Linked DNA regions of Homo sapiens: region 1 is linked to region 2. The links are contacts of gene promoters, found by promoter capture Hi-C in blood cells and fetal thymus (Javierre and others, 2016). All regions are on one chromosome and are shown on one strand. The core of a region is centred on a gene start or on the middle of the fragment in contact, and the rest is flanking DNA. Distances in the headings are between cores, read along the strand shown. Region 1 has its middle 5.0 kb from the start of TPM1. Region 2 holds the start of CA12 (carbonic anhydrase 12).

Region 1 (4,562 bases), core at 61-2,560, 350 kb before region 2:
CAGGTGCTGGGAAGTGAAGAAGGCCATGCTAAAAATACTGGCCTCTTCTGGAACTCTGCCGGCAGCCCTGATGGAGCTCCCTCCTCAAGCAGCAGTACCTCAGCAAAAGAACAGTTTCCTCCGCCTTAAGCAGTAAGAAAAGTCTGGCTCCTTCCTCCACTGAAGTTCCTGAGGTAGAATGGTCCTCAGGACAAAATACTCAGAGAAGCATTTCTATTGAGGAACAGCAATTTCTATCAAAGCAAGAAAACAGGTTCTCTTAAGAACTCAGGGTCCCAGAAGAAAGTGCTAAACCCTGGGGTACAAGGTTTTGCTTTTAGCACACTCATCCTGATGCTGTCATGAGAGGTGAGTAGGAGGAGGTAACGAACTTGTAAGTGCTTTTTAAACTACACATATATAAGAGAATATCACCATTCTTCAGACAGCTAAATTCCCCCACATATAGAGCTTGATTAAACCTACATGTTAACCAATTAAACCTTGGGGAAATGGGTTTTGCTAGTCTGCCAAGAAAGGGTCTTTACAAAACCAAAAGAAAGCCCATTGCTTACTTTTAATAACCTAGGCCCACCCATAGGCCTCTAAATCAAATAACCTCCACTGAGAATTAAGCTGTTAGCACTAGGTCTGGCATAGGTGCAGAAACAAAAGTTTAGAAATCCTAATCTTGAATTTACCTAACACGGCTGCCTCCTAGAGCCTGAGTGGGTTGTAGCGAGACCTCAAGTAGAGGAGAGGCACCTGGGCCATCCGCCTCCATGGGCTTTTTTTTTTTTGCATCGAATTTCATGGTCTGCAAAGTAAGGGTGGGGCTTTACTTGCCATTCAGGAGGTTGCAAAGGTCACCTCCACATATGTTCCTGTTAAGGACATCAGCAGAAACTTGAGAAGCAAGTATAAAAATATAAAAATGAGCAGGTGGCATTCAATAGGAAAAGAATGCAGGGTTTGCTGGGAAGTCATGATTGAAACCAGTCCAAGGCTCCGACGTGGCCTTCAAGGCTCTGGACTGCGAAGTCTGTACAGACGCTTTCGTTTCTGCGCAGGCTGGGTCTTAAGGAGGCACTAGTTGCTGTTTTGCCCCAAATTTTCTCTTCATTTTCCCCCCAAACATACTGCCTGGGTTAACTGGTGGCTCATTCCTTTGCAAACCCAAGGGTTTTAAGGGAATCAAGTGTAGATATCTATTGATTACCCCAAATCTCCATTAAAGCTACTGGGAATAAAATTAACATACTCACCTTTCTATCTTCAAGATGTCCTTATTATCCCTCCTTTGGTCATAAACACAAGAGTGGAAAAAGATTTTGGTGGCTTAACAACATTTTCTCACTAGGTTCTCCCATCACTGAGAGTGGGTGGGAGGGTTTAGGAGCCCAGGCTTCTGTTGTGAGCTGGCCCATGCAGGTCAGGGCAACCCTTCAATCTTAGCCTCATTAGTATCATGTTTTAACCACGTTCTGCGTGTAGAAACGACCTTAGCGACCCCCCCCTTCCCCTTATAATGTATTGCTTTTAAATATGAAATAAGGCCAGGCGCGGTGGCTCACGGCTGTAATCCCAGCACTTTGGGAGGCCCAGGTGGGCAGATCACCTGAGGTGAGGAGTTCGAGACCAGCCTGGCCAACATGGTAAAACCCCATCTCTACTAAAAATACAAAAATTAGCTGGGTGTGGCGGCGCATGCCTGTAATCCCAGCTACTCGGGAGGCTGAGGCAGGAGAATCGCTTGAACCCGGGAGGTGGAGGTTGCAGTGAGCGGAGATAGTGCCACTGCACTCCCGCCTAGGCAACAGAGCAAGACGCCGTCTCAAAAATAATAATAATAAAAATAACATAAAATAAATATGAAATCAAACTGAACCTAAAAACAGGCTGGGAATGAATGAATGAAAAGGGCATTGTTACTGAGAGTTCAGATATCTGCATTTTTGTTCCTGCACTGCCACCTCCCAGCTGAGTGGTCTTGAACCAGTTACTGCCCTTGGTGTGTGTGGTTTTGTTTTGGTTTAGGTTTTTTTTCTTTTCAAGACAGGATCTCATTCTGTCACCCAGGCTAGAGTACAGTGGCACACTCACTGCAACCTCAAACTCCTGGGTTCAAGCGATCCTCCTGCCTCAGGCTGCCGAGTAGCTGGGACCGCAGGTGTGAATTACCATGCCCCGCTAATTTTTAAAGTTTTTTGGAGAGATGGGGGGAAGCTCTACAAATTTGCCCAGGCTGGTTTTGACCTCCTGGCTTCAAGTGATCCTCCTGCTTTGGCCTCCCAAAGTGCTGGGATTACAAGCATGAGCCACTGTGCTCGGCCTGGTTTTCTCATGTACAGAGTGAAAATCAGAGAACTCATCCTGATGCTGTCATAAGAGGTTGGGAGGAGGAGGTAATGAACTTGAAAGTGCTTTATAAACTATACAAACATGAAGGAATATCGCCTTTCTTAAGACAGCTAAATCTGCCACACTTGGAGCTTGATTAAATCTACACTGAGTTGCTACTGTTGAGAGACAGACAATAAGAGGTAAGGCAGGAAAACTCCTATGCCTTTTTTTTTTTGTACTGGGACAATCATTTTGCCCATGCAAACATTCCAGGTAATAAGCGTGCTCAAGGGCCTCTCCAAAGAATCAGGACCAGCTGTGTGTTACTAAACAATAAAGGCAGGCACGCCTTGAAAATGGCCTAAAGACCTTTCTCAGAGATCCAAACCAGCCCCACCCCCCGCCCCCAGGAAGCATAGCATATTTTCTGTGAGGCCTTGATGGTAGCATCACAAACCCTTGGGAAACACAACTCCCAGTGTTTGAGGAGAGCATGCCGTATCTTGTTCCAGGGACACTGAGTCGTGAGCATAAAACGCTGCATTCCAAAAGAGACGAAGAAGCAGTCGTCTCTCCATTTAATTATAGATTCTTCACTTTCCCTTAATTGCTTCAGTCAGCACTGTTGACTCTGGGGGAGTCACAGTACACCGGCAGGGCTATTGCTGTTAAACAAGGGGTGACTATCAGGTAATGAGGTTTTCATTTTGTTTTTTCAAACAAACAAACCCTGATGTACATATTCAAGTGGGCATTCCTGTTAAAGGTGTCACATTGGGAAATGATGCTCATGTTGACTCTCCTTTGTAACCAAATATTGATAAATGTAGTATGACACATACAAGTGTTTTATGGAAGGAAAAAGGCAGCATATTTAATATTAAAGCTTTCCTAGAAAACCCGAGATATGTGATCCTCATAACTATAGAGGGCCCCAGGTGACCAACTGAGCTGATGGTCATGCCATGGGAAATACATATTAAATGACTCCCAAAGAGAGGGTTCTCCCTGCATCATACATAGACACTTTTCCTACAGAAAAAGATCCATGTCTTTTGTCTGCTTCCCTGGATCCCATAAGCCCTAAATGTCTTGCACACAAAAGGTGTCCAATAAATATTTGGAGACATTTGTCTTACCCTATCACAATACTTATATTCATTCTTCATGAAATAAGACACAGAGCCCATATTTTGAATGGAAACAAGATCTTTTGAACCTAGATTTGTTACTTTACCTTCCCAGACTTTCTTGTAAGTCAGTAAGAAAGCTGGACTTGTCAGTCATAAAAAAAATTGTTCAACAAACATTCATTGAGAAATGACTGAATACCAGGCACTGGAGAAATCTGGAAATTCCAAGCATGTTCGTGGTGATCACGTAGAGCCTCTAGGCCAAGAATGTTGAATGTTGTGCAGGCTGTCATGCCACCATGATTTGGTAAGCTTTTTACTTTCAAGGAATATAGACTCGCTTATGTAACCTCAAGAAATACAGGGGGTTATTATAAGGACCCCTGGAACTGAAATTTGGTCATATTCTCCCAATCTCTTTCTCTAAATGGTGCTTCTGTTTATCTTGATATGCCTGCTTCATTCTTTCTCTATAATCACTTCTCTGCTTTTTCATAACTTAGCTGATGCATGCCTATTGTGCTGTATTAGTCAGGAGAAGCTAGTTATGCTTCAGTAACAAACAACCCCCAATCTCAGTGGCCTAAAATAACAAAGATTTATATCTTATTCTCACTACATGTCCACCAAGGGTTAGTTGGGGGGAAAGAGGGAGCCACTTGAAAACCCACAATGACAGAGCAGCCACAGTCTTGAAAAATGAACATGGTTAGTCGTGAGCTCTTTAAGTATCCACCAGAAGTCATTTCTGCTCACGTTTCCTTGGCCAAAGCAAGTCAAATGGCCACAGCCAACTTAATTGGGTGGGATGTACAATGCTACCACGACATTGACTGGGGAGAAAACCTAAAAAATTGTGAATAACCTTAATCACTTTTACACGTGGCATTTCCAGCCCGACACTGCAATCCCTTTTTGTTTCAGCAGCCACGGCTAGTGATTCCCATTTTTCACGTTCCTTAATTCAAACTGCAATGAAAGAAGCTGAGTGGCCCAGTTCATCATTGCCTGACAAGCCACAACGCCAAGTCCCTGGTTAGTATTTAGATCCATCCTTGAGTTGTGGCCAATCAGCCAGAGAACAGGGATACACACTACATACAGCCT
Region 2 (5,125 bases), core at 1,835-4,334:
CAGGCAGAACAGTTGGAGGCCCAGGATGTAAAATTCCACAAATAACAGAGGAGTTCACCCTTACTTTTCCCCTGAGGAGGCACAGGCCACTCCAGTGATCCTGGAGGCCACTAGAAACACATCTGCTGCCTGAGCACTGCTGCCTTGCCAGCAGTTTGCATTGTACCTGCTCACATTCAAATCATAGCCTTATACCCTACATCTTCTGCTACCCTCCCAGGGCTCGCTAATCAAGGTTTTCCCTGTTGTTGGAGTTCTCATCCTCAGATGAGGCCTCAGCATCACACTCTGGAAAGCTCAGGGCTAAAAGTCATAGAGTGGACATCTGGGACTGTGAGGTCGCGGTGGTGACATAGGACTGGGGACTTGTTGAAAGGCAGCAGCCTCCAGAGCAACATTCCCTGCCCTCCTCTCTGTGAGTGAGCTGGCTTGGGACTCCAGACTCGGCACTTTGGGTATAAATGGCAGTGTCTGGAGGGGCTCAGGAGCTGGAGGGCTGGGGAGAAGCGGCGTTGTAAGTGAGGATGGTGAGTCAAGGGGGTTCATCGGGTGAGGATCAGGGCCCCAGCTCAGCTCTGACCTCAGGAAGTCTCTCTAAAAGTGTGTGTATGTGTGCGTGTGTGTGTGTGCACGCGCACGAAAGTGTGCTTTATTCAGGAATTGCACCCCCTGGTTCCCCACTTCTAGCTGTAAGAACAGAAGGCTTAAAAGGATTAAACTGATTCCACAAGCGAGGCCAGGCCAAGGCCTCAGTGGCATCCTGAGGGAGCAGGCCCTTCCTGGAGGGGAATAGTTTCCTTCCCAAGGAAGGTTATCTGTTCCATCTGGGAAACCTGGGAGGCTCAGCCTGAAACCTGTTAGAACCTGCAGACCCAGCTGGTACTGGGCAGGGAGGTTCCCCTGGAGGGAATGCCCAGAGAAAATGGTATTTACCAAGATCCATATCAGAGGTCCTGGGCCCTGCCTGCTTCCTGTGCTGGGTGCTAGAACTTTCCCTGAGTAACCATCTCCTGGGTAGCCCAAGACTGCCTGGCTCTCCACACCAGGTTTGGGCAGGGCAAGCTCTGCAGAATTCACTGAAATGCCCCCCAAAGCCACGGCAACTAAGAATTCCAAGGGTTTCTCCAGAAGACACTTGACTTCACATTATTATGCTCCCTCCTGGGCCCCTGACATTGTTCTTGAACATTCTCCAATGCTGGAAGTTTAAATGCACCAGGCAGAGAGCAGATCACACTTTGACCCCATTACTCAGCTTAACTCCTCTCCACCTCCAACTTTGGGTTCATGCTGACATTCTACACCTCAGTGATTTTTGCTTTGACCTGTCCTCTAAGGCAGTTAAAAACCCAAGGAAACTGCATGAGAATTTACAGAATAAAAGCTGTGCTCTACCCAGGGGTAGGCAGTCTCCTTCCTCAGAGTGAGGCGAAAGTGGAGTTTTGACTACAAACTTCCCCAGTCCCAACTTGGAGAATTGGGAGAGGAGATAAGGAGGAGGGAAAGGGAGAGGGAAGAGGAAGAGCAGGGAAAGTAGGGAAGAAAGGAAGGGGAGGGAGGGAAGAGAACAGGGAAGGGCAGGAAAAGAGAGAGAAGGGAGGCAGAGCTGCCCCAGAGTGAGAGGAGCAACCAGCTATAGGAAAGAGGGCCAACTAATGGCTGTTTCTCCCTTTGGTCTTGGAGCAACTTAGGACTAAAGAGATTTCCAGGGAAACTTTGGTCTCAGTGCAGCTTTCGTAAAAGGAAACATGTAAAGTTTGTGGTTTTAAAACTTGATTTTCACTTTTACATCGCTCCTTTCTCCCAACTTCTGTTACATCGCTTCTGTTTCTCCCTGACCAGATGAGGGAGATAATATCAAGCACATCATGCCAGCTAGTTGACTGGAATTTAATTAAGAGTTATCCACAGCCTGGCTCCCCTGCCCTTCCCCATGGGCACTGTGACCTCCAAGAGAGGAGGCTCAGAGCTTTTATGCTGCTGAGCAGGACACATTTCCCACCACCACTGCCTCGCCAGGAAGAATCTAGTTTCAGCCAGTAAAATCACTTTCGGTCCAAAATCACTTTCTTATTCCAAAAGATTAATGAACCAGCCTTGGCTGTACACGTGTTAGCTCACTGGCCCGGCGTGAGCCCACAGTTCAGGTCCCCTCTGCCACCTCCTCCTGTCACTCCACGGAGCCTCCATTCAGTCCCTCAGCCTCCAGCCTTTTGGGATTTAGTGTTCTAATTACAATCAGAAATATGCTGTGTGTGTGTGTGTGTGTGTGTGTGTGGTTTGTGTGCGTGCGCGCGTGCGTGTGTGTGTGTACGTGCACACACACGTACATTCAGCATAGTAGAGCCCTCCTGGAGAAAAACAATGATTAAGAATGGGATGCATCATCCCTTTGACTTGTAGGTAAGACTTAATGGTAAAGATCCTCTCCTCCAAAGAAAAGCGCCTACCACTGTCTGCGGGTTCTGCACAGGGGCACAGCAAACCTTTCTCTGTGCTTACCCCAATCAGAATGCCACAGTCATGTCTCTACTTTCTAAACGTGGATCAGGGGAACGCTGTTTTAAATCTTGGCTTTGCATCTCCTCCCTGGTTAGCAAGTTCCCAAGCCACATCTTCAGAGCTGGCGGTGCCCGGGAGTACACGCAAACATTTTAACACCAAATCTGCGCCAAGCGCCACTAGAAAGCAACGTGCTTCCCGACCCAACCTCAGCAAAGGAAAACGGAGCATCCTTTCTTGAGAATCTACTATTTGGTACTACACCTTCCCTGCTCCCCGCAGCAATGATTTTACTTTATCATTGAAGAGCCTTCAGCCCAGGGGCGGCTGAGCGCTCAGGAGTGTTAGGAAAGAAGCAGGCGGAAACTTTACCGTTCACTGGGGCCGGGCTGGAAGGCTGTTCCTTTAAGATCACCAGCAGGAGCACGGCCGCCGCGTGCAGGCTGCGCCGGGGCATCTTCGCGGGCTCCTGCGGGGCGGGCGCGGGCTGTGCCGGGGGCTCCCGGTGGCCGCTCGCTCTCCAGCTGCACACCGGGACCGCGTGCGCGCAGCCTGGGTGCCGTGGCGAGTACGTCCGCCCTTCGCTCTCCTGGCTTCCCCGGGCAGCTTTTATGGAGCAACTCAACGCCAAACACTTGATGTCATCGTGCGGGGAGGGGGTGGGGGAGGAGAACGCCCTGCCCACCGGAGGGCTGGCGCCCCAGATCCTAGGTGAGTTGTAGCCTTGACTTCAGCAGCACTCTGCGGGTCCCCGGCGCTCCTCTGGGCCAGGGCTGACCCAGGAACACAGTTCTCCGAGGAGCTGCTGGCAGGCGTGGGTGAGATCCGCCTGTCTCACATCCAGAAGGGTGCGTCTAGGGATTCCTTCAGTGGCATGCCCTTGGTCTGTCACTGGTCCTGTAACAGCCCAACGAGTTCACCTTGCCCGCTGCTTAGACAGAGCCCATTTATCAAGACAGGGGAGTTGCAATGGAGAAAGTAATTCACGCAGAGCTTGCCGTGCCGGAGACCGGAGGTTTTCGTTCCTTTGTTTGTTTGTTTGAGACGGAGTCTCGCTCTGTTGCCCAGGCCGGAGTGCAATAGCGTGATCTCGGCTCACTGCAACCTCCGCCTCCCGGGTTCAAGCGATTCTCCTGCCTCAGCCTCCCGAGTAGCTGGGATTACAGGCACATGCCACCATGCCCAGATAATTTTTGTATTTTTAGTAGAGGCGGGGTTTCGCCAGTTTAAGGCTGGCCTTAAACTCCCGACCTCAGATAATTCACCTGCCTTGGCTTCCCAAAGTGCTGGGATTACAGGCGCCCACCACCACACCCGGCTAATTTTTCTAATTTTAGTAGAGACGGGGTTTCACCATGTTGGCCAGGCTGGTCTGGAACTCCTGACCTCAAATGATCCACCTACCTTGGCCTCCTAAAGTACTGGGATTCCAGTACTCAAATCAGTCTCCCCAAGCATTCCGGGAGTTGTTTGTTTGTTTGTTTGTTCAGACGGAGTCTCCCTCTGTCGCCCAGGCTGAAATGCAGTGGCATGGTCTTGGCTCACTGCAACCTCTGCCTCACGGGTTCAAGCGATTCTCCTGCCTCAGCCTCCTGGGTAGCTGGGATTACAGGCACGCGCCGCCACACCCAGCTAATTTTTGTATTTTTAGTAGAGACGGGGTTTCACCATGTTGGCCAGGCTGGTCTTGATCTCTTGATCTCGTGATCCACCTAAAGTGCTGGGATTACAGGCGTTGAACCACTGCACCCTGCCTCTGGGAGTTTTTAAAGATAATTTGGCAGATAGGGGCTTGGGACTTGGGGAGTGCTGATTGGTCAGGTTGCAGATGGGATCACAGGGGGGTTGAAGTAACGTTTTCTTGCAGTCTTCTGTTCCTGGGTGGGATCGCAGAACTGGTTGAGCCAGATCACACACGGTCTGAGTGGTGTCAGCTGATCCATCCAGTGCAGGGTCTGCAAAATAGGATGTTAGATTTTACAATAGCGATGTTATCCCCAGCAGCAACTTGGGAAGGTTCAGACTCTTGCAGCCTGACGCCGCAGGACCCCTAAACCATAATTTCTAATGTTGTAACTAATAGATTAATCGTACAAAGGCAGACTGGCACCCAGGCAAGAAGGGGGTCTTTTCGGGAAAGGGCTATTATTGATTTTGTTTCTGAGTCAAACCATAAACTGAATTCCTTTCTAAGGTTAGTTTGGCCTATGCCCAGGAATGAATAAGGACAGCATGAAAGTTAGAAGAAAGACTGAGTCATTTAGGTCTGATCTTTGTCACTGCCATAATTTCCTCAGTTATAATTTTTGCAAAGGCTGTTTCAGCCCTACTCAGAATCCCCCAAGTATAGTGCCATTTGGGCAAAAGCCTCCTTCATGCTTTTTTTTTTTTTTCTTCAGGTGCCTGCCTGGACTTAGCACAGGTTAAGGAACTGGACAAGATAGTTACATTCACATGAGTTTCTGCCAATTGTTCAGTGCATCCTGATTAAGTTCTTACCTTCCAAGTTGAGATGCAAAGAGATGAACTGAGAATAGGAGAACAGCACAGTGGGGTACACATGAAGAGCTTATCACAATTCCCCTTAGTAACGGGTAAGTAGATGGGACTCATGCTGGTTCAA

Evidence for each region. The method cuts DNA at HindIII sites, captures the fragments that hold promoters and counts their contacts. A CHiCAGO score of 5 or more calls a contact.
Region 1: a contact is called between a fragment that was not itself captured here and the fragment with the promoter of CA12 in region 2, in 1 of 17 cell types (activated CD4 T cells). The highest score is 6.1, in activated CD4 T cells.

What each region holds. Positions count from the first base shown.
Region 1 is chr15:63,035,442-63,040,003 of GRCh38, forward strand. No RefSeq gene overlaps it. Among named protein-coding and RNA genes, the nearest start is that of TPM1, 5.0 kb to the right of the region's middle. The HindIII fragment of the contact is 3,792 bases long and covers 1-3,206 here.
Region 2 is chr15:63,378,762-63,383,886 of GRCh38, forward strand. CA12 (carbonic anhydrase 12) reads right to left here and starts at 3,085. Exons shown (of 11, transcript NM_001218.5): 1 at 2,875-3,085. The coding sequence starts at 2,959. RefSeq lists enhancers at 2,769-3,289, 3,290-3,809. The HindIII fragment of the contact is 7,810 bases long and covers 1-5,125 here.